4 separate regions of the Homo sapiens genome follow, and regions 2, 3 and 4 are each linked to region 1. Evidence: promoter capture Hi-C in 16 types of primary human blood cells and fetal thymus (Javierre and others, 2016). All regions are on one chromosome and are shown on one strand. The core of a region is centred on a gene start or on the middle of the fragment in contact, and the rest is flanking DNA. Distances in the headings are between cores, read along the strand shown.

Region 1 (6,182 bases), core at 1,885-4,384:
GTAAGACATAATCAGCTTATTTTAAACATTTTAAACAATGGATCAAATTAAAACATCTTAAGTACAGTACATATTCCCAAAGTTTAGTCAGTCAAATGAAAACATCCTAAGATGTTCATTCATTCATTTATTCATTTATAAGACATTTACTGAACACCTATGAAATGTCAGGCGCTAGATTATAGATGGAGCTGAAGATACAAAAATGAGTAAAATACAACTGATCCTTTACCGTTAAGTAATTCCCAACCAAGAGGAAAAAAAAATAATGCGACAGTCTATAAGTACTAATGATAAAAGGAAGCAGAGAAAGCTTAGTAAACTCAGAACTAAGATTAGAGGACAGAGGGAGTTTGAGAAGGTTTCTAGAGGAGATAATGCCTAAATTGAGTCTTACGGTATTAGCAGAGGTTAAGCACAATTATAATTTCATGGATGTGTGTGTTTGAAAAGTGGGGGGGTAAATGAGGTTAGAAAAAGAAGACAGTGAAGTACGACCCTGTCTCAATAAGAGGATGCAGCATTTGCAAAAGTAAAAGGCATTAGATAAGCATGGCATATCACCAAACTGCAAATACTTTACAACTGTGCTGTCCAATACAGTGGCTCCTGAGCACCTCAAATGTAGCTATTCAGAATTGGCATATGCGGCAAGTGTAAAATACATGTGGAATTTTGAAAACTTAGTACATAAAACAGACCATAAAATAGCTCTTCTATAATCTTTCTTACATTGACATATGCTAAAATAATATTCTGGATATATGTGACTTAAAAATACATTAAAATTTCACCTGTATTTTATTGTGTGTCTACTGAAAAAAATGGATATAGCTCACATTCTATTTCAAATGGACAATGCTAGTTTAAAAGGATGGCACTGGCTGGGGAGTAGTGCTAAAGTAATAATAAGTGGGACTGGATCGGGTGGAAGATAATATCACAAGAAGAATCTCTATGTCATTAATAAGTTGGTTGGAAACCAAGGCTCTTCAGTAGGGTTAATATTATCAGATCTGACATTTGCAAGGATCCATCTCCAATCTAAGAATTGGAGGGCAGGAAAGCTGGAGGAAGAATATCAATTGGTCTCGATAATCACTGACAGACAGTGTTTTGAAAGTAGTATAACTAGAGATACAGAGTACGGAACTGATTCCAGAAATGTTTTTCAAGTAAGATAAACTACACTTGGTGACAGATTAAATATGAAGTCTGAGAATAGAGAAGAACTTGAGTAAATTCCAAAGTTTTGGGCTTGCAAAATTAGGAGAATGTGGTATTCAAGCAGGACAGCTTTGGCAGGGAAAGGTGATGGGTTCAATATTGGACATACTGAGTTTGGGATGCCTATGGATAGGAAATTTATGTGGAAATACCAAAAATTAGCTACAAAAGTTTGACAGTAACTCAAAAGTTCCAGATCAGAAATAAAAAATTGGGAGAGTGTTAATAAAACACAAATAGTGTAAGCCAAAGGAGAGGAAGAACACAGCCAAGAACACAGAGTAAAAAATAGAAGACGGAAGACTGAAGACTGGATTATTGGGAAAAACAATAATGAAATATGGTGGGCCGAGGAAGAAGATCCCACAAAGGAGTTGAAGAATGACAGGCAGATGAAGAACCCAAGAGAAGGGTAGCATCTTTATTTAATGGGCTTCCATTGTGTCCTACAGAATTATAGTTCCACAATATGTGTAACGGAAGAGATGTGACTCACAAAAGAAGAAAAATCTCTTTTCCAAAGTCACAAACTACTTTTTGATATTTAAAATGATACTTTGTCAACTTAGAGAATCAAAACAAACTATTATTTCCTATAACTTATTTGGATAAACATACTAGCTAACATGGGAAATCACAAAGTGAAATATTTAAAATGGTAATATAGAATTTAAATGTGGAACAACTGGAAAAAAACATAGATTAAAATAACCATGCAAAAGAAAGAGGGAATGAGTAAAGAACTGGAAACATCGGTTTTACCATTCTAAAACACATATAGCCACTCCCTCTGCCAAAAACTAAATGATGACTTCTGATTGCAAAGATATCTCTAATGCAAGTTCTTAACGTGAAGATAAAGGAGGGGAATAAATATGTATGTGCCCAAGTATACTTTCCAAAGAACAAAGTGAACAAAAAAGGGGTTTATATCAGATGAACTGGACCAGGGCTCTTCACTGTTAAACACTATCCCACGGTCTATCTAACGTAAACATCACGTATCTGAGTACCGACTCCAACTCGAGTATGCCAAAAAGGCACTTTCTTTTTTCTTTTATTTCTAACCATCTTTACTCCTCTCATCCCATCCCTGAAGGATGTATAGAAGTATCACAGCCTGGACAAGTACGGCTTTCCACTCTAACCACAGTTTTAATAATAACACATCTATTATTATCCGAGAGCTACCAAAGCCTCCTTTTCCGTCTTGGCCCTTGGCCCTGCCCCTCCTCTCTAGTCTTGAGTCTCCACGGGCCTCCGGGGTTTTTGTTTTGTTTGTTTTAATAACAACCACTTCTCTAGATCCGCTTGCTCCCTTTCTTCTCTTCTCGGTCCCAGGAAGTAAATACCCTTTCCCAGCTCCTCTCCTCCTAACTTCCCAGTCCCCCCAGTGCCGGTCAACCTCCCTTCCTCGGGACCCTCTCAGAAGCCGAGCTCTTTACTCATTTTCCTAGGTCTTCCTTCTCCTCGCGGTCCCTACATCCTCCCCCATCCCTAATCCCTTCATCTTCCCTGCTTTAAGAACCACCCGCAGGCCCCCATCCACGAACGCCCCTTCACTAGCTACCAGACGCTTCAACCCAGCCTCACCTCGCACCTCCACCTCCCCCGCCGTCTCCACGCCCACTTCAAAGCCCACCTCCAACCCGCAGGCTCTTCAGCAGAGCCGATGCGGCGTCCCGCCTCCTTGCCTTCCCTCTTAGGACCAAACTCCCAGCTGGGGCCTCGGCGTCTGACCGCCAAAGAGCGGGTGCCTGGTTCCTGCGGAGGCTGCCGGGCGGGTGCCGAGGTTGCCGAGATGCGGGAGGTTTGAACACAAGGATGGGACAGAGGCGAGGATCGGGGCTCCTGGGTGGCAGCGGCGGTAACCTGGGCTCCAGGGTAACGGAGGCGGAGGCCTAGACTGCACTACGAAGAGACCGCAGCCAATCATGATGACTCTACCCGAGCTCCCATTGGCTTCTGTCTCCAGACGGCCCTTTTTATTGGCTTCAGTGGAACTGGAAGGCGGGACGGCGAGTGCGGGAGAAGGTCTCCATTGGCCGACCGCTCTAGCTGTAGCGGAGACCCCCAAGTAGGGAAATTGGGGCAAAACGCGGAGCGCTCCAGGCTCCTACGGGCTGTGCGGTGCCAGGGCTCGACTGCTGAGCGTCGTGGGCTCCGAGAGGGACGCGGGCGGAGGGCAAAGTGGGTTCATGATATGAATTGTAAAATTGGCGACTGCGTAATGTAAAACACTTAACAATTGCTTAGATTTCCTTTGGGAAATAACTTGCTTTTAAATTGTAAACAAATTACAAACAAACTGCTAGTGCTTCTGGATCTTCTTACCGAAATGGCTGATTCAGGAGGATGCGGGGTGAGTGCACTATTGTTCCTGCCTCGAGATCCTGGCTGTGAATCACCAACGAGCCGTGAGTTTGGCTTGAAAGTGATTTTTAGGTTTTGGAACGGGTTTGGGGTGGAATGGCATCTGAAATATTTGCACACAAGTTTTTTTTTTTTTTTTTTTTTTTTTTTTTTTTTTTTAAGGAACGTTTTGAGGAGCATGTCAGCCTATTGAGCGCTGATGTGTGACATATTTTCTCTTTTAGAAATGGCATTAATTGCGGGAGACAGGGAAGGTAAAAAAAAATCCTCTTTCGTGAGGGCTTTAAACTGCTCCGAGCCATCTGATTATCAAGGTGGTTTAACACTACTCTGGTGTTCTCACTATTGTTAATTTCTCACTGGCCTTTTTACCACCATTCTGTAGAGAATCTAATATTTGAAGGCAAATGCGTTTAATGAATCTTCTAACCATGAAGATTGGTAATTCCTGCTTCTCGCTCAACCTCGTTTTTCCACCTTTGCACTGTTTCAAAGCTTTCATTTTATCCTGTCAATACATTTTACTTCAAGTTACAGACTAACCCACCCAAACAATATTGTGATTAAATGTAATTTTCTGTATGCGAAATACATCTGTACAAGATGGCAGTCATCTGTTAGTGAAAATAAGATGAGTAATCCCTAAATTGCACGGAATTACTTTTCATCAATTCTTTAATCTGTCTCTGCTGACACTGTTAAAATAGCTCACTCGTTATTATGGACTCTGTTAGAATTAACATGTAAATGTATGGGTGGATTACTTATAAAGGAAGTTGCTAGGAAGAATCAGAAAACATACCGTATTTACGTGGACAAATGTCTGTCACAGGAGCGTCAGATCAGGATTGCTGAAGGAGAGCTGAGAATGAAACCACCATTTATTCAGCACTCAGAATGCTCCAGGCAGTGTAATCTCATTCCATCTTCATTCATGACTCCAGACAGGTATTGTTATTCATTGTTTATACTTGAGAAAGCAGATTCAGAGAAGTTAAAGTATCTACCACAAGGTACGAAAGTAGTAAGTAGTAATGCCAGAGTACAAGCCTAGGTCTGCTTCCAAATTTCGTGGTTTCGGATTTAGTGCCTTCATTGTGTTTCACCTACAGGTTAAGAAGTTGTTGGTAAGCAAGAAAATATTTAAGACGCTGGGAGAATCCAAAAAATTGTCTAGTTGTGTGTAACATAGTCTCAGGATTCTTACAGTGTGCAATTTTATTCACCCCCTCATATTCAAAATAACAGTATCAGTTTGACCTTGAAAAAAGACCAAAAAATGTATAAATTTACAGAAGTAAAAACTAGTTTATTGAATTACCATTTTAAAAGGTTACCCCAAAATATGAGAAAGCAGTTTTAAAAGTTTTATGACATTACATGGTTTTATATATTATTTTTGATAGGGCTAGAATTTTCTAAGATACCATTTGACATTTTATTTCAGTACCACACAGGATTCTGCTTTTCAGAAATAAAGGAAACAAAGTTATCAAAACCACATTTATATTTCTGCCACTTGAAATTATAGTTAACAGAAATCAGACTCTTGTTTTTAAAGATTTTGTTTATGAAACAAATTCTGCAATGGTCATTAAGCACTTTGGAGTTTTATTTTTAATATCCTGGGCTTCTTCCATTGATACTGCAATATCTCCAGATTTGCTACATTGCTAACTGAATGTTCATTTTCTGTAGGACTTTGATTGGCTTCTTTATTGCCATATGGCAATGATGTAGATGTTATAATGTAACTAAAATATTCCTACAAATGCTTACTAGTAGGATTATTCTCATTTTCCTTTGGGGAAACTAGTGTCGAGTTTGAATGGTTGGTTAGAAGTTTCAAAAAAGTAATAGGTAGATAAATAGACTCTCTAACTGTAGACAGAGAAATTACAATGACCATAATTTGTAAAGTGGGGGGACATACTATATATAGTATCTTGGAAAGCACATAAGTATAATTATCCTTAGCTAAAGTTCAGTCATCTATTTCATACCATTCTACAAAAGAAGAAAAGCAGTGTCACAATTTTATATAATTTACAGAAATGTGATACATAACAAAAATTCAAAAATTTTTTCTCTAACTTCTTGATCTCATGTTGCTTGGAAATTTTAAATTTATTAATAGATTCTAGGTAAATAGTTGGTTTTAGCATATAACACTAAATTTGAAACAGTATCTAATATGCTGCATGTTTAAGAGAAATCGAATGGATTGGTTGAGTTGGGTGTAAAGAACAGTATAATTGGCCGGGTGCTGTGGCTCATGCCTGTAATCCCAGCACTTTGGGAGGCCAAGGTGGGTGGATCACGAGGTCAGGAGATCAAGACCATCCTGGCTAACACAGTAAAACCCTGTCTCTAATAAAAATACAAAAAAATGAGCTGGGCGTGGTGGCGGGTGCCTGTAGTCCCAGCTACTCGGGAGGCTGAGGCAGGAGAATGGCATGAACCCGGGAGGCGGAGGTTGCAGTGAGCCGAGATCGCGCCACTGCACTCCAGCCTGGGCAACAGAGCAAGATTCCGTCTCAAAAATAAATAAATAAATAAATAAAATAAATAAATAGTATAAT
Region 2 (6,182 bases), core at 2,165-4,664, 240 kb after region 1:
CTAGACAATCTCCTAAAACCTGGCCTTAAACTTTTCTTGACCTTCTTTGGCCCAAAAGCTTCCATTCCTTACTTAGGCAAACTTTTCCCATGATCACTCCCTGGACTGTCTATTCTGAAAGTTTCATTTATTTTTTCTATATTGTCTTAATAATAGCCAACTCCCTAGACTGCTATACTTCCCTTAACGTTTTTGTTAATCTTACTAGCAGGTCACACAATGCCTGAATACATTTCTCTGAGACACAGTCATGATGAAAGAGTACATAGCTTCTACATAGACATTAAAATAGAACATTTTTTCCCTAAACTACTTGTCACCTGGCCACTTGTACAATGCCAGCAGATGACTATGGGTCTGACTTGAGAAATAAAACCGAGGGAGTCAGGCTCAGAAATGAACTGCCTTAAAACGCCCTGTACCATATCTAGTCACGTGACAATAAATACAGACATGTTTCTGATACAGTGGTTTCTGTGTACAGGCACACACTGACAGGTACCTTAAAAAAAAAAATGGGATGACAACATACTTGTATATAGGTACTCATCCTCACCTCTCTCTGTCCAATCTTAGAGGAAAATGTGTCTGCTTTAAAGTAACCTATGATCTGTGTCTCCCTGGCACCTCACTGAAGCCGGGAGTCCTCTCTTGACTGTTTTCCTCCACTTTCCACATCTTCCTCCAATTGGTTCCTTCCCTATAAGCTAGAAATACGTTCACATCACTGCCACTAACAAATCTTTGTCCTTACTATATAGGCCTTTGTAGCTACCATCTTTCTCCCCCCATGAGACCACCAGGCTCCCTGGTAAAGTGGTTAACACTCAGTCCATTTATTTTCTTTCCATTCACTCTTCAACCCACTGCCATTAGCTATCCCTTGTACTCCCCAGATATGCTAGGGAAAAACTTATCAATGCTTTCCTAGTTGCCAAATTAATTTATTATTTTACCCTTCATCTTGGTAAATGTGGCCCCGTGTGTGGCACCTGATACAACATATCCCTCCCTTCTTAAAACTCCTTCCCAGGCTTCAAGACTACTGCTGTCTCCTGGGTCCTCTCCATCTCTAGATGTTGTTTCTCAGTTGCCTTCCCTGGTTTCACTCAAAATTCCTGGGGTTTTGGTGGGGAATTGATACAAGATCCTGATCCCCTCACTTCAGGCTGGGAAATTTAACACAGGCAGGGAAAATCAGATGATCATTCCAAGGAATGTAAGTCTGGAGTGCGGACACATGGGGGTGGGGAGCAGTTGTAAGTGGGTCAGCTGATGGCAGCAGCCTAGATGGCAAGCCACAAATTCTCCCCAGAGACCCTGGAGCTCCCTTCCTCTGTTCTCTCACGGCCTGAGTATTCAGCTGTTTATACTGTGACCTATGCAGCAGGTTTCCAATAAGTTATTCTTTATACAGTGCTTACAGTTACTACATCTGGTTTCTTTTACTTGTAACTAAAGACCTTTAATAGATACCCTAGAGCTTTGCCCTAAGGTATCTTCTCTCCTCTGTGCACATGGGCTTTCTTCCTGGTAGCCCCATTCACTCTCATGGCTTCAGCCACCATCCATATGTTCTTGACTCCTTATTTATATCTTTAGCCTAGAGATCTCTCATGAACTCTCCACCTGCAAATATAATCACTGTACCTAACGATTCTTCTCTTGGGTGACCCCCAGGAACCCAGAACTCAACATGTCCCAAAGTGCACTCATGGACTTTTCCCCGAAATCTGCTTCTCGCTTTTCCATTCTCTAACTCAGTGCCTGACACCACCATCCATTCAGTCACTCCAGCCAAATACCTCTCCTTCTCACTCCCTAATAGATTAGCAGTTGCTTGGTCCCCTCAGTTCCCCTTCTTAATGCCTCTCTTAATTGTTTACCTCTCTCTGCCTCTCCTCCCTATCTCAGGCCCTCAGCACTCCTCCCCTTGACCATTGTGGCAGTCTCCTAACTTGCATCCACTCTCATCTCCTTCTCCCTCTCCATCCATTCACTACAATCCATACACTAGAGTCTCATTTCTAAAGCAGTCTTTGCTCAAGTATCTCCTCTGTTTAAAATCCTTTTTCTCCTATTGCCTAAAAAGGCCAACTACTTAACGTGGCAAACAAAGCCTTTCAGATCTTACTTCTGCCCACTTTGCAGGCAGCCTGATATCTTGATTCCTCTTTCCTCATTGTAATCCCCAAACTCTAGTCATGTTGACCAAGCTGCCCTCCACCAAGACGCCACCCTCCTCATGCCCCCTCCAGCCCTCTGTGCTTCCCGCTCCCTTTGCCTGGAATGCCCTTCCCCACCCACCCAGACATCTGCTTAGTAAACACCTACCCATCTCTTTCTTCAAAAGGTTATCCGTGTTTTTAAAAATAAAAATAGCAATTTTATTGGAAAAAAGAAAGAAAACACAGAGAAGTTTCATGAAGAAATAAAGATGACCTAAAAAGCCTACCACCACTTAGAAACAAATGTAGATTGGAGTGGGGGAACATGTTTCCCTATCCTGGCTTCTCAGCAAAGCTGTGGTTGATGGGTAGTGAACTCGCCAGAGAGGCAGTAAGTGGCCCGGTGGTTGCAAGAGGTTGAGGGCAGGAGGGAATGGGGAGTTAGTGTTTCATGGGTTCAGGATTGCAGTTTGGGAAGACAAAAAAGTTCTGGAGACGGACAGTGGCGATGGTTGCACAAAAATGTAAATGTACTTAACGCCACTGAACTTTACACTGTTAAAAATCATTAAAATGGTGAATTCTCTGTTACGGGTATTTTACCATAATTTTTAAAAAGAGGAAAAAGGAAACAAGACTGATCTCAAGGGGTAGCAGTTTCAGTAACATTTTTTTCTTTTTTCTTTTTCTTAGAAAGGGAACTGGCTGACGTTCATGGTGGGGGAGATGGAAGGAACTGGTAGAAACGAGAAACAAAAAACCCAAGAGAGATTTCATTTTTCACTAGGATGCCAGGTATAAAATAGCACATCTCTTTTAATATTCAGAATAGCCGGAGTCTCCATTTCGTTATTACAATAATGTCTTTATCCCTTCCCAGGTTCTCCCCTTCCATTCTCTACCTCTTTGCGATCAAACTGAGCACCCGGGGGTTTCCCAAACCCAGGGTTACCGGATCCTGAGCATGCGCGGAGGAGGGACAGGGAGCCGCCCACGCCGGGCTCCGCGGCTGCAGTTGCTGTTGTGGCCACAAGGTGGCACTAAGTCTTTGGCGGCCGCTGGCCTTCCCGACCGTGGAAAGTCGGGGCCGGTGGGGCTAGGTAGGAAGAGCACACTCCTGTGAGGTTGCCGGGGGCGGGGCTCCACCTGGACCCCTGCTCTAGAGCTGCTGGCGCCATAGGAAGAGAAGATGTTTGGAGTTCTGCCGTCCTGCCTCTTCTGGAGTCCCGCCGTGGCTTACTCCTTTCAGAGCTTTCTGCCCTGTCCTGACAGTGCCCTCTCTTCCTAGGCCTGAGCTCCAGGTACTCAGCGACCCGAACCTTCCAACCTTCGCACCCTCCCCAGCACACTTTCAGAATCTCCACGGCTGGGTCCAAAGGGGCCCTCGCTGGGCTGCACGTACTCTGGCCGCCTTAGCTCTAACTCCTGCCTCTCTAGGGCTTTTCCCTCTAACCCCAGAGTGTGGAAAATCCTCTATTTTTTCGCACAGAAGGCATGGTGCTTCCTTCAGGGGGCGAACCCCACTAGTTTACCAGAAAATGGACCTAGCACCCTCCCTTCTAAAAAAAATAGGAGGGTAGATGACCAGAAGCACAGATGGAAGGGCCAGACTTTGAAAGGAAGGCCCGATACCTCTATTGCTGAGGCAGAGCAAAGGGAGAAAAGGCAGAGCAAAAGTGGGTAGAAATAAAAATGCTTTTCGAGGGAAGGGAACTTAGCAGGCCTGCGGCCAGTTTTCCTCCCTATTTTCATTATGAGATAGATACAAATGTCATATGTGAAAATGAGAAGGAGAATATGAAGGGCAAAGCCCATGTGTGGTGGTAAAGAGAACTGCAGAAGGAGAGGCCAGGTGGCTGAGCCTTGTACGAGGGCCTATGTGTTGTTGGAAACCAATCGTTCACTCATTTATGTATTTGAGAGATATTTATTGAACATCTGCTGTGTGCTGACATTGTTTCAAGAGGTGAGAATACATCAGTGAACAAAATAGAAAAAACTCCTTGCCTTTGGGAAATATTCCAGTATTTCCTAAATACTAGAAGGAGAGGAGGACTGAAGATTGGGAGGACGCAAGATTAATTAGTAAGCAAAATGAAATGCTGGAGGGTGATATGCTGTGTGGAAATAGACACATCAGGATAGGGGATATCAGAAGTTGTGAGGGACTTGTGACTTAGAATTTAAATAAGGTGTTCAGGGAAGCTCTCATTGACCTCAAAGACTTGAAGGAAGCTGGCCACGTTGCTACGGAGGACAAGCAATCTGGTGGAGAGAACAGCCAGCATAAAGGCTATGTAGCAGGAGTGTGGCTGGCATATCCATGTTGCTCCCAGAGTATATGGGATGCTGCAGCAAAAATAGATAAAGCATGAGGTGGTTTGGGTGAGGCTGTGGAAGCATGGGTGTGGCAGAGGGGTAACCAGGGAAGAAAGTGAAGAAAGTGCTGATAATTGTGGTTCAAGGGAGTGATTCTGTGGTCCAGGAGGGCAGACAGAACTGGGAGGTCCTGACAAGGAAGAAAGGAGGCTGAGTAGGAGTTGTGAGAGTGGGGGATGCTGTGTATAAACATTGGGTGTCTCTGGTAGAATTTAAGATGTCATTGGTGGCATAGTTCAAAATGATGATAAAGGCAAGAGTGTGGCCTTGCGAGCAAGTGATTGAAAATGGGAAGTGGGCTAATGCATGGTGCATACCCCAGTCAACCATAGCCACAACTGTGCTCTTCTGCATGGGGGTTCAGCTCCTATTGAGTAATATAGGAAAGGGCTAAGCTGCAATTTCTCTCCTGCATTACCAACAAATGCCCAGTAGAATTCAGCATTCTTCCTCAAGCACTTAGGGATGCATGAACGCCTGCTAGCAAATATTACAGGGCAAACAAAATTGTACCCACACATGATAGGAACCTTACATTCTCTGCCAGCACACTGATATCTCTTATAAGAGGTGGGTGATTTGGTTCTCCTCTAAGATGGTGAAGCCTGTCTGTATTTCTTTAAATCTTGGTGAGAGGCAGCATGGCGGTGTTGAGATCGAAGCCCAAAGAGGTGTAGCAGAATTTGAACAACATGGTTTGTGAGGCAGTAGCCTCCATTTCTCTTCTATCAACTCTTGATTTGAAAGAAGTGTTGTTGGGAGTGGCAAGATGGAGGATGAAAATCTCAACCCAACAGCTGTATGTAGTGAGACTTTAGTCTAGCTTCCCTTATCTGGGAGTGGCTTCTTTACTTCCTTACTGTACGTTCCCGTATCTTTCTCCACTATAATGCTGGCTATATAATGTTTGCTGTCTTGTGGAAGAGAACAGATTATTCGAAGGTAATGATGAAGTGTAAAAGAATGGGATGAGTGAAAGAGAAATGAAGAACAGTGATGCAGTGATGATTCATTCACTCATTTCCTACTACAACAAATATACATATATATATTTGATACCTATTACATATGTATATATCAGGTGTCTACTAGCAACATGGAGTCATGTTCCGGGGATTGGAGATGCATCAGTGAACAAAACAAAATTCCTGCTATTTGAGACCGACCTTGAGGAAAGACAGAAAATACATAAGGGTGCTTTGTTGTAGGAGTTGAGTTGGAGGGATCTGGGAGATGATCAAGGAAAAAGATGTGAGCACAGGGGGCAGTAACATACAACATGCTTTACTGAATGGCTCTTGGATGGGGTTGCATGAAAGAGGATGTCTCTCCTAGTGAGACCATCCAGAGGTTTAGGGCAAGGGGGCCACTGTTTAGAAGGGGAGAAGAGCAAACAGAAAATCAAGAGAGAGGGGGATTAGAAAGGGGGCTTAGAGGATCTAAGTGATGTCACTCAGCAGTACAGCAGAGAGTCTGGGTCAGAGAGCTCAGAAGGGCCACAGTGTTCAGGGCCTTATAAGTACAAGGCCCCATCTGATCAATGAGCAACAGCTGTTGGGTGAGGCCTCATAGGGTACGTAAAGTAGGCAGGCTCCAGATGGCTAAAAATCTGCTTGTTTGTGCTATTTTTTAAAT
Region 3 (6,182 bases), core at 1,041-3,540, 180 kb after region 1:
AGCTGTGAAAATAAAATCTACCCTTTAAAAAAGTCTATTATAGTATATGAGATTTATTTATGTTAAATTGGAAATGAAGGTCTGGGGAAGGGGAAGCTGCAGTATTTCAGAAAGTTACTTAAGCGGGTCAGGAAACCTGGGTTCTGGAAGGAGGTGGGCATTCCTCTCCTTTTGTTAGGGGGAACAAGGAGGGGGAGACCTGACGGGGAGCAGGAGCCCATGGCCAGAGGCATTATGCTCCAATTCACATGATTGCAGTGTTCATTCTCAAGGAGTTCTAGAGAATTTTAAAATAAATCATAGACCACATAAGATTCCCTATAGCACCAATCACAGGATTTTGCATTGGTTAGCAATAGAAAATACGCACATAAACATGACTTTGCGTTTTGGTGGAGTGCTGTAGTGCGGAGCACACTGCTGTGCTAGCTGGGCCAGCAGAACGCTGGGGACAGAAGCCATGGGTGTGTGAAAGGTACCTTTCTTGTCAGGTCTGAGAGCCATCACCTGGGGTTCCCTTCACCTGGGCTTTCCATGCTGCTCAGGGAGATAGAACATAATGACAGAGAAGATGAGCCCAGAGGCACTTTTCTATTCATGCGTTCTGCAAAAGAACATTAATCGAGCACCTTATTGGTTTCCTATACCCAAACTTAGTAGCTTAATTAACACAACGAAAATATGTTTTGGAATTCAGGAGGTCAGAAGTCTAAAATGAATCTCACAGACTAAAATCAAAGTGTCTGTAGGGATGCTTTCCTTTCTGTTGACTCCAGGAGAAAATCCGTTTCCTTGCCTTTTCTAGCTTCTAGAGACCGCCTATAAGCCTTGGCTCAAGGCTGCATCACTCTGACTCTGACACTCCTACCTGCATCTTAAAGGGACCCCTGTGATTACACTGGGCCCACCCACGTAATAATCTAGAATAAACACCCCATCTCAAGATCCTTAATTCCATCTGCAAAGTCACTTTTGCATATGTAAGGCGATGCATTCACAAGTGCCAGAAATTGGGACGTGATCTCTCTGGGGGTGGGCTTGAGGGAAGGAGGGCAAAGGCATTATATCCCACTTACCACAAGCATTATATAAGCCTACACGTAACCAGGCACAGGAGATATAAAGTCTCTGCCTCTGATGGGATGGGATTGGGGTCATGCAAATAAATCAGATTTTCCGGCAGTGCAAAAGACTACAGATAACTCAGGAAGAGGCTAGCTCAGCTGAGGCAATCAGTTCACATACCTCAAGCAAGTGATATTTGACTTAAGTCTGACAAATCAGGAAGAGTTAGACAGATGGGTGGAAAGGGAGTTTTAAGCAGAGCAAAGAGCATATGCTAAAGTATAGAAATGTATAAAACAGCTCAGCAGTTTCCATGATTAACAAGATATTGGATTGTGTTGCTGAAAGTGGCAGAAGATGAAACTGTACCTAATGGCTCAACTGTGTTAAGAAAGATTGTTCTTCCTCTGATAATATCTGTTCTGGGCTCAAAAAAGAGGAGGTTGATCTTCTCTTACATAAACATTGCTTCCCAGTGTTCATGGTGTTGGAAATTATGTTCAAACCTGGTCAAACAGCCAAATGTATTTTAATCTACCTTTTTATTAGCCACTTCTAATGATAAAAGAAAAAGGAGCTACAAAGCTAGAATGAAGATAAGCAGTTGATGATCCAATGAAATTATTAAAAGACAGTTTCTAGAGAAAGATGTATAATATATTTTTCATAAGGCTCTTAATATAGTTCTGTTCTCTCACCACTGGCCTCATGAAAATTTTAGTGAGATTTTTATTAAGAAAAAAAGATCACCATGATAAAGACCCAAAGGTGAATTGTTAAGAAATGTGAAACAAATGTGATATTATTGAACCATTTCATACTAACAGCTTGTAAAACATCTATTTCTCTGTTATTAGGGAAATTTTATTTGATTTTTATCTTTTTAATATGGACAAATCTACAGCTGGTGCCTATTTTCCTGAATGACAAAAGATATAAGAAATGTGGCTAGGAAATTGTGAAGGTCAATTAATTCAGTCTCCTGACCTACTCAGACCCCTTGCCTGCAACGTTGGTGAGAGGCGTTTCATAAGTAAAGCACAAAGTTTAATAAATATCTGAAAGCTCATTTTGTGCCAGGCATTGTGCTGGACCTGCAGGAAACAAAGAGAGTAAGATAGAGTTTGCCCTCAAGGAACCACAGAGTGGCTGCAGGGTAAGGGTGGGGAACATATATGTGTAAGCAGCTCCATTATTGTCTATGTCAGATGATATAATTGAAAAGTGTCCAGGATGAAAGTGCTACTAAAACAGTGAAAGGACACTTACCTAATTCTATCTTGGAGAGTCTGCCGGAAAGGTCTTGTTAGAGGAGGTCATTCTTAAGATCAATCATGGATGAATGAATGAATGATCAACCAACTAATTAATCAGTAGAAGGAAGTTTCCTGGGGAAGAAGGCTGGGAGGAGACAGCATTGGTCAGAGGCAATAGCATATGCAAGGGATCGAGGTGGAATAAAGGTTACACATGATAGAGGTATCACAGATGTATTCTGGGCAATGGACTAGATTGTAATGAGCCTGGTATGCTATACTATAAGATTTGAAAATTAACCTATAAACCCCCACTACTCAAAGTGTGGTCCGAGGACCAGCAGCATCACATGAACCTTGCTAGACTCCACTCCAGGCTAGAAGCACATTTTAACAAGATCCCCAGGTGATTCAGGGTCACATTAATGTGTGAGAAGCACTCCTGTAGATATTGAAAAGCATTGATGGATTTAAAGTAAGAATGTGAAGCAATCACATTTGTGTTTTCAGGAAATCACAGAGTTTGGCAGTGAGAAGAGAAGATGAGGTATGGGAGAAGGTGATGTGGGGAAGAATAAAGGCTCAGAGACCATTTAGAAAGTTAATTTATGGATGATAAGAGTTTGAACTAGGGTCATGGCCATGGAGATGTCTTATTAACTCTTGGGGAAATGGAGAGTAAAGGACTCAAATGTTCTAGCTTGGTTGACAGATGCAATTACCCAAAACAGGGAGCTTAATGAAGCTCCTTTTGGACATCCTGAGATTGTTTGAAGCACAGGTGAAACAGTCAGGTGGATAATTTCACCACTGAACAGCACCGTGACTGTGACAATTCAGGAAGCTCTGAAGAACAGAAAAGGAAGTAAAATCTGAAGAAGTAGGAAAACCAGTAGAAAGCATTGTATGGAAAGCCAAGGGGAAGAAAGTCTCAGAGAAAGGTCAGGTCAAATGAACACTAGAGCATATTCTTTAGATTTGACATTCTGGGAGTTTGGGGAGAATTCCTTAATTATTAATGTACCAAAAATTCAGAAATAATTACTGAAATTGAGCAATAGTGAATAGAAATAGAATAGGGCCAGTGGTAGCCAGAGAAATTTACTAAAAGCAATGTAAGTTGGGACACGTATAATTCTAGTAGCAGGTGTTATTTTTAAGGACTCTCATGGAAGCAGTTTAGCCACTTAAACATGAGGATGCTTTGGCAGAAATCTTATAAAAGCCCACTGAAACATGGGGAGCCCAGCAATAAGGTAAAAACTGAGAAAATGGAGATCAGAGATGCTTAAGGCTCTATAAAGATTTTCACAGAAGGAAAACGGATGAAAGAAAGGAGTGAATCTTCTTTTTAAACTGGTCATTTAGAACGACATAAGTTTTGTGCTGTCTCATTAAGAACAGGTATGTGGAGTTAAGCCTTCTTACTGTCTTATACAACTAACAGCTTCTCAGTCAGCTGTTCATGCTACACAGTGTATTGGAAGCTCGCTGCATTTCACTCCCAGGTGTAATTCTTTAGTGTATTAGAAACTGGGGAGGCTTCATTAGGTTCTTAATTAAGTATTAATTTATCATATTCCGCGAGCTACATTGAGCTATTTTTTAAATCACAGTAATTTACTCTTTAGTATCTTCAAAGAAATGTATGCTTCCAGGGATCTTCTACCCAGGAAACAAAGCCACACATATTGAGCACCTGCTATGTTCTAAGCAAATGGCTTTCAAATTTTTTGACTATGAGCCACAGTGAGAAATATATCACATATCAAAACCACATACACACAGACACAACACACTCCAAATAATACAACTATATTAAATGATGTTTACTCTTTTATTGTGCAGTGCTCTTGACACTTCTCATTCAGTTTGGAGGCCCGCACTGCTGAAGGCTAGACCGTGGAACATGATTGCCATGGTTGCTCCACCCTGGCTGGCCCAGTCTCAGAGAGTAGATGGCACCCCTTTTCCCAGCACTCTCAGTTTTCTACAAGGGCAAGTGATTGAGTGGCTGGAGGGAGAGGAATGGGAGTCTGACAGATACAGACTGGAGTTCTTAGTGCCAAAAGGACAAAAAGCTGGATTCCACTTCATTACTACTTTTTGTCCTCGTAGCAATCATTTTACTTCTCTAGGCATGTAGACTGTCTACGAAGACAGCTGCCAATACACTTTTCCACCTCGTACCTACAGACCACTTCCCCCATCAAGAGGGAACGTCTCTTTTCCGTCCCTTAGAATCTGGCTGGCCTGGTGACTTACTTTGACCGGTCCAATGTGGTGGAAGTTCTAATTTTAGGCCTGAGCTTTATGAGACTTGGCAGCCTTTTCTTTCACTGTCTTGGGCTCCAGCTACCATGTAAAGGAGCTCAGGCTAGACTACTGCATAGTGACAGACCACGTGGAGAGACCCAGCCAGCCTCCCCACACGGGAAATCCCAGCTGACATCATGTGGAACTGACCTGCCCAGCCGAGCTGATATATCCTGCAGAATCATGAAAAATTATAATAAACTGTGGTTGTTTTAATCCACTAAATTTTTAGGGTGGTGTGTTTCACTGCACCAAGTAGTGTTTCTCTTCTTACTCCTCTTTCCCGGCAGCAGGCCTCAGAGCTCTGCCCCTCCATGTGTTGGAGGATGGCAGAATGGAGGAGGAGATAATTCAGCAAAGCTCCCCAGGTAATCCTGATACTACCCTCTTGCAGTTAAGGTTAGTTTGGGCTGCAAGTAATAGACAAAGCCCAGTTACAGGGCTTACACAACATGGAAGTTTATTTCTCTGTCGTGCCAAAGCCTTGAAGTACTTTGTAAAGGAACTAGTCAGAAACAGCATAGAGTGCCAGGATTTCTTCCACTTTGGTCAAGAACATGCCTTTCCAACATAGTAATTACATAACTTTATCTGCTCCCAAATTGGAATTTGCTGTTTCAGATTACTAAAGTGATGCTTACTGTTTTACAATTGCCCAAGCTAATTCTGAATATAGGTATTTGAGTTTAGCTTAGAGCACCTTCAGGGAAGCTCTTCAAGTTTAGTTATGTCATTCTAGTCTCAGTTTCACTGATTAAGCTTGAAGAGATTAACTTATGATAAGTAATGTTTTTTGGAGAAACCAAGAAGTCTGTGGTGGGTTAATAACTAGCAGAGATGAACTTAATCATGATTGTTAAGCTTCAGGGTTCCTCATGTGCAATCTTCTTTCAAGTCTAGGGAGGAAGCCCTAGCAATATACTTACATGATCATATGTTTGTGTAAAATTAACCATAAGACCAACTAAGACTGTTGTCTCTTTCCCTTCTGATGTACTCCGTCACCATTTCTCGTGTGTCACTATGCTGGATTGGCCATAGGTCAAAATATGACTAAGGGGAAGTTGAATTGGGAATACTCTGAGTTTGAGAAGTATTTGCGTGGTCTGCAGTCCCTTCTCTGTGTAGAGAAGTAGTTGCTAGGTGTGGAAGAACTTCAGGAATACGCCCACTGCCCTCTGTGCTGACTCACAGCGTCACAGAAAAACCATGCAGGGCCAGAAGTGGAATCGTGCCATGAACACAATCAACAGCAGCTGCCAGTGAAGTGTATAGACATAGAAGAAAAAAGAAAAGTTTGTAATGTGCAGAGCCATGAGCTAGATTGTAGAAAATTCTTCCAATAATCAGTGTGTGAAGTTGTAGACAGAGAATTCAGTTTTCATTGATGTTCTTTTGTCAAAACATAAGTTCTCTCTGGTCAGGAGTATAGACAATAAGTGGCATATGTAATTACAAAAGCACTACACACTTTTTTCCTTTTTTATTGGAATTTTGCGAAATAAAATTTATTGGAATTCCTGTGTTTGGAAGAACAAACCTGTA
Region 4 (6,182 bases), core at 2,410-4,909, 160 kb after region 1:
GGAGACCTTTACAGCTTTGTTTACCCAGTGATTTTTTCAAAACCCTAGATAACAAAATATCAAGAGTGGAATTGGGAGGCAGCCTTCCATACTGAAAACCTAGAGTAAAATCTTAGGTCAGAGTGATTCACAGACAAATGTTAGTTTGGCCCACAAAGGAAAAGGAGTGTGTTCCTATTTCATTTCTGTCACCAAATGTTTTACATTTTAATCTTGTCATAGGTTTTGGGTTAAAAACTTGTTACATTCTTCATCATACTAAAATAAATTTTTACGTGCAAGCAGACTAATTCAGCAGATTTATTTAGCTTTTCCCTGATCTGGACAGAGCAATGGTACATTTTTTACTTCCATAAAGAATTTGTTCAAAGTACCAAATATAAAGATAATTGTTTGCTTTTGTTGGTTTATTTTCTGCTTCCCTTTTTTTCTAGGATTATGACAGTTTTTTTGAATCCAAGGAAAGCAACACAGTCTTTTCATTTTTAGGCCTGAAACCACGGTTGGCATCAAAGGTAGGTAAATCTTTTCTTATTCTTGTTTTAGAATTCATCTCTTTTGAATTTTTCTTAGAGATGTAGAGTGACGGTGTTAGAGGAATGCATATATAATTTCTTAGATTTGGGGGTTTTGCTTCCTCTGATGCATAATTAGAGACTACCCAGTGTTAAAACATACAACAGAGGCTAGTTTTTTGTTTTTCCCCCCAATTCTTCAGTTGTTGCTATAAATTAGAATATTACCTTATTTTTAATTTATACCCCATTCCTCCAAGAATTTAAGGTAGCAAAAACTAGTAGGTGCTTTCTGTTTAAAATTGCAAATTTTTTTACTTTACATTTTTTGAAATAGCAGACTCAGAGTCATATTTAAAGGTGTTTTAAATTTACTTTCATTGGAGAAGAGATGGTCTATAATAATAAATGGTCAACCTTGAAAAAAATCTTCAATTCTTTAATCAAAATATTTTGAAGCCACTTTTTATTAAGTCATATGTCTTTTAGAAAACATAAAGGAGCCAATATTTTCTCATGTTTAGAACTAGAAATGATGTGTGTTATCACAACTTTATTAAGCTTATAGATTCACTTTCAAAAAAGAAAAAACATTTCTTTATTAAGTAAGGTACTATTTTGATATTATTTCTTTTTTTAAAACACACATTTTCTTTCTGATTATGAAAGTAGCCTAGACTCCTTTTTTTGAATTGGGAAAATATTAAAAAAGGGTAAAACAAAGAACTAAAATCACCACCCAGAGCTAACCACATTGACATTTTTTGTGTTTCCTTGCAGTCTTTGTATACATAGTAATTGAAGTTTTGAGTGTTTCAAATTGAGACTGAATTCTAATATGTCTATTTTTAACACAACCGAAATAAAAGTACATTTCCTAGAACTTTGATGTCTTAAAATAGTAGGTCTTTTGAGGCTACCCAGGATTTGTACCATCTCTGGCATACCTGTAGGAAGAAGGCAGGGACCCTCAATAACATAAATTATAGACCAGCATCTGCAGTGCATAGCCAATGTGAAATCGTGCTTTGTTTTTACATCAGTTAGTCCACAGATGGTTGTGGGTGGTTTCCATGCACATGTTTTAAGCAGAGGCAAAACCCACGCATGCCGTATTTAAAGGTTCTTAAAACTGCTTTTATAAAGATGGAACATTTGAATACTTGTTAGGAAAATTAGAGTATTTTTATAACGTATTTCATCCAGAGATATTAAAAGTCCAGATTTATCTTCAAAGAACTGGAAAAAACTAGGATGGAGTAGTCTAATGGATACATAAATCCAGCGGGCATCATTGTCTATGCAAAAACCTTTTAAAAAATACTGCTTGTTCCCATTTTCCCCAAATATGTAAATTCTTTAGAGACTGTGGGCTGACTTCTTTATTCTTCAAAGAAATGTATTTTCTCACCAGTTTCTCAGGAAATCTATGGTCTATGAAATATACATTCTCACATGGCTTTTGGCCACAGTATTAAAGTTGATCTTGGTGTCACTGAAGTTAACTTGATTTCAGGGGACCATCCTAAAGGTAGTGAGGGCCCTGGACACTGCCCCCATTCAGCCCACCGTTTTCAGGGACCTAAATCAGTTATACCTGGACAGGAGTATCTGGGACCAGAGCAGATGTCCATAGCACAAGGTCTGTGCCACTCTCCATGAACCATTTAGGGCTTTAAAAGCTAATAGTAACTCATACTTCATCGTCGTATGAGAGAAGTGAAAATGTCTTCAAGAACAATTTAGCATTTTCTCTCTTCTAATCTTCTATTTTTTACCTTGGTAGTGATTCATCATACAGTCTATAGTCTAAGGCTTTGACAGAGTGTTCACAGGTTTAATGTACTAAAAGATGAAAGCCCTGTTTTCTCTTTTCCTTTCCTACTCCCTGTGTAGTATACACACATAAAAAACATGGCAACAAAGCCTATCAGGAAACATAAAGACATCATTAGCACCTATAATTGCTCTTACTTGGTAGGAGAGGACATTCATGGGCCCAACAGGCCCAGGTGCAGTGTAGGCTCTGACTGGGCTGCCCTCCATAGTGGGAGGGGCAAAGGTAGGTTAGAGGTCTCTAGATGGTGGCCTGCAGGCCACATTGGCCCTGGATATGTTGTTTGTCCTGTGAAGAGGTTTTTTAAAGTATGTAAATATTAGATGGTATGGAATCCCTGGTGGGGGTGGTGGGGGGATCTCAGTTTCCCTTGTAGTTGGCTGGAGCCCACAGTGGCTGGCCCATTGTGATAGCCAACTAATTCTGAGAAAGGGAGGCCATTTCACCGATACTTTTTAGGTAGAAAACCATCAAAGTTAAAATTTAGTAGACCCCAAGAAGGGCCTGTCATAGAAGATTGTACTTTCAGATCCCTAGCTTTCAGGGGTAATATCCAAAGTAGGTAACAACCGGTCAACACTGGGTGCTGACTGGCCAGAGCTTGAGCAGGCCACAGAGGCCCCCTGTGCCAGATGTCAGCTCTTTATCCATTGGCTCAAGGGGGAGGGTGCGCAGGGGTGGCAGTTGGGGGACTGGGGCAGCGACTCTTTACTAACAGATATGGTCGTTCTAGAGTGGTTCTTCATCTTGGGTTGCTATTAATGGGCATCTCTGCAGGCCCTCTGAGCAAGGTAACCCCCCACCCAGCCATACACAAGTGGAACAGTACCTCTGAGAGGAATCTCAGTAGGTCATTGAAAACATGCGGCTTTCTTTCCACTTTTATATTTGGCAGGTCGGGTGGGTGTGATTTAAATCTGGGCTCTGATGCTGAAACCCAGGATTTTCTCTTATCAATCACATGGAGGTGATCTGTTATGATTTCCAACATCTCTGTTCCTGACATTTAAAAAACCCCTGCCAAGGGTGAATTTTCTTGTCGATGTAATGCAATAACTGACTTTTTTTTTTTTTTTTTTTTTTTTTTTTTTATAGGCAGAACCTTAGAGAAGAAGAGTGGAAGATGACGGAGATGCATTTTGAAGCACCCCTGGTACTCAGCACACACATGCTTACCTAATGCATCACTGTGACAAAAGCCACACGCATTATCAGTAACTTTGCTTGCCACGGAAAAGGTGTTTTTGAAAGATGTGGCTATAATGAGAATTGCATGATTGCTTTAAACCAAATCAGGTGGTGGATTTTTTTTTTCTTATTCTATTTGCCTGCAGTTGCCTCACTCACCTGGAAATACCGTCACCTGTTACAGGTGTACTTTCTTAATGACTGAAAGATAAGTGGGTAGCACCGTCAGAGAGAAAATGTTGGATCTGCCCTAGGTTATAGTAGATGCCGGAATTGCGTAAACCCACTTCTCTTTAAGCTGCCTGGATTGCACCTTTGAAATATGTCTGCCAAGTTGTTAGAATCTTTGAATCAGAAGGAAAAAAAGCAGCGCTGGTTGACAAAGGGTGTTGAAGATTTTTGCTGCAGAATCAGTTACAAACATCACAGTTCCCATGCTTTGTAATAACACCTGGTGAAAAAGTTAGATATTCTAGACTTGTTTTAGTAATGGAAACTCTTACCTCCACATATTATCCTACAGATGTTTCCAGAAATCCCTGTTGTAACATCAAGTGATCAGAACTAAGTTACTGGGATGACAATAATTGCTATTTGAAATATATGCTTCTTTATTTCTTGCAAGGGGCAAGTTTCACCCAAATGCCTGAGACTGCTTGAAAGATATATTTTAAGTGGTGCACTAATTAGTGAATATATAGGAAAATTATCTGACGAGTATCTGAAGGCATTTTCAGCTCTAGCAATTTATTTATAATATATAAGTTCATATATTTTTTAATCCAGCTCCCCTAACAGACAGCTGCTGCTTCTATTTTGTGAAGGGACTATATTTTTTGAGAAAGGAAAATCTCAGTTAGATATATTTTGTGAACCCTTGATTAGACATATTAAAATATACCAATGTTGTAGTAAAATTTAATTTTTCCTTTTGTTACTTTTCATTTGCCTCTAATTTTGCTTGCTCATATTTCTGGCCAATGTACAGCCTCATATTTTTCAGAGTAATACAGATACTTGTTCTCATTCCGTATATGAGCACAAGTAAGGTTTCAGAGCAACACACATGAGAAAGAGAGTAACCCGGAATTGTACTTGTCAAGCAAAATCTATACTCCTATTGGAGTGGATGCTGATGAACATCGAACATATCTACTTCATTAGAGCAGAGGCTATTTTTCTGCATTCTTGTCCCTATAACAGGGATGCTTAATTTTTTTTTTAACTTAGAGTTTTAAATTGCCAAACATGGGAACAGCCTTGAATAGGATAAATTTTCAGAGGGCTGCCTAAAATATTTTATTTCTAGCATCCTGATTCTGGACTTTTCATTATAATTCTGAGCAGGAAATTTATAAGAAATTGAAAGAGCAGAAGAATTACAGCCCTGTCACATGTGCCCAGCACTCCGCCCCATGCCTTGCTAAATGTAGACTAAAGAACTTGTTGAATGCTAAGGCTGAAATCCCAACCTGAGATTTGTAGTCCAGGATTACAACCAGAAGGAAAGTATGACAGATTTCTACTTAACTAGAATGGACACATGATCCACAATTTTCTCTTCAAGGGAAGCTGTTGTCAAATTATGGATATTACTGGTTAGTTGTCATTAAGTAAGATCCAGGTCAAATTCCATTTGACAAATCCCAGGGACTATCCAGGAATTTTTTTTTAACTGGATATTGTGTTTGAGTATGTGAGTCTTCTGATAAAACTCAGAATTTCTTTTTAAGCAGTTGTAAAAATTGTCATGTTGTAATTCATTACTCAGCTAACATTTAGTCTACTCTTGCTAGTGAGTGCCAAGAACCAACTTGGTAAGGTTGAGGCTTTGCAAGTTAACTGCTGGGGTTATAGGATCAATACCATACTTGCTAGACAAAGCTACCCAGATTTGTCTTATATTATAATTTTTGAGTTAACCGTAGTATACCTATTATGATTATAGTAAACAGACTAGTGGGTAGTAATGCTAAATTACCATCACAGTTATGTGCCATCTCCCCACCCCATTTTTTTTTTTTTTTTTTTGATCAGCAAAGAAATACAGGAGACCAGTCTCGAGTGGTGCTGTACTTGTTATGAGTGAGGCAGCAGCACAGTGTGTGGCATTTACATGGTACCCAGGCTCCACAGAGTACCAAGATGTTGCCCTCTGGGACCACACTTAGCTCAGAGAATATGGGGTCCTTACTTGTATTCTTTTATCAGCTGATTTTGAAACATATAATAATGATTTTCTTGTTCCCTTCTTTAACTAGCTGCCTTTAGATTTTGATAATCACAGTCTTAAAATACTAGGAAAGAAGTGGATGGGAATTGTAGGCATAGATTTCATATCAAGGGCATTTCAAGACAGAATTTTTATTTCCTGTAGTAGGCTTGCTGGAGCAAAGGAAATGTGCTGCTAAAAATCAACTTATGCCATTTTAAAATTAGATAAAATATGGAGTGCCATCCTGCTAGGTGAGTACAGACCAGAAGAAAATTTAGTTGGGAAAATACTTGTTTTTCCAAATTCCGGTGTTTTATTACAATCAAAGAAGAGGAAAGCAAGGTATTTTTTCACCTCAGATTCTAATATATTCTAGATTTGTTTCTGTTTTATAGATTTAATTCAATACCTCCACATAGATGTTTTT

What was found. Contacts are between HindIII fragments. The CHiCAGO score rates a contact against its expected background, and 5 or more counts as called.
Region 2: a contact is called between a fragment that was not itself captured here and the fragment with the promoter of LCA5 in region 1, in 3 of 17 cell types (activated CD4 T cells, monocytes and M1 macrophages). The highest score is 6.6, in activated CD4 T cells.
Region 3: a contact is called between a fragment that was not itself captured here and the fragment with the promoter of LCA5 in region 1, in 4 of 17 cell types (megakaryocytes, erythroblasts, naive CD8 T cells and 1 more). The highest score is 7.8, in megakaryocytes.
Region 4: a contact is called between a fragment that was not itself captured here and the fragment with the promoter of LCA5 in region 1, in 1 of 17 cell types (erythroblasts). The highest score is 5.4, in erythroblasts.

Annotation. Positions count from the first base shown.
Region 1 is chr6:79,534,296-79,540,477 of GRCh38, forward strand. It overlaps LCA5 (lebercilin LCA5), which reads right to left and starts at 3,135. Exons shown (of 8, transcript NM_001122769.3): 1 at 2,870-3,135. It also overlaps a transcript of SH3BGRL2 not described here. RefSeq lists enhancers at 3,031-3,604, 3,599-3,648, 4,179-4,752. The HindIII fragment of the contact is 3,782 bases long and covers 312-4,093 here.
Region 2 is chr6:79,774,987-79,781,168 of GRCh38, forward strand. LOC124901349 (a long non-coding RNA gene) reads left to right here and starts at 2,862. Exons shown (of 2, transcript XR_007059655.1): 1 at 2,862-2,963; 2 at 3,049-6,182. The HindIII fragment of the contact is 6,716 bases long and covers 57-6,182 here.
Region 3 is chr6:79,713,972-79,720,153 of GRCh38, forward strand. No RefSeq gene overlaps it. Among named protein-coding and RNA genes, the nearest start is that of SH3BGRL2, 86 kb to the left of the region's middle. The HindIII fragment of the contact is 6,207 bases long and covers 1-5,394 here.
Region 4 is chr6:79,696,051-79,702,232 of GRCh38, forward strand. It overlaps SH3BGRL2 (SH3 domain binding glutamate rich protein like 2), which reads left to right. Exons shown (of 4, transcript NM_031469.4): 3 at 435-515; 4 at 3,448-6,182. The coding sequence ends at 3,459. Among named protein-coding and RNA genes, the nearest start is that of SH3BGRL2, 68 kb to the left of the region's middle. The HindIII fragment of the contact is 5,171 bases long and covers 1,075-6,182 here.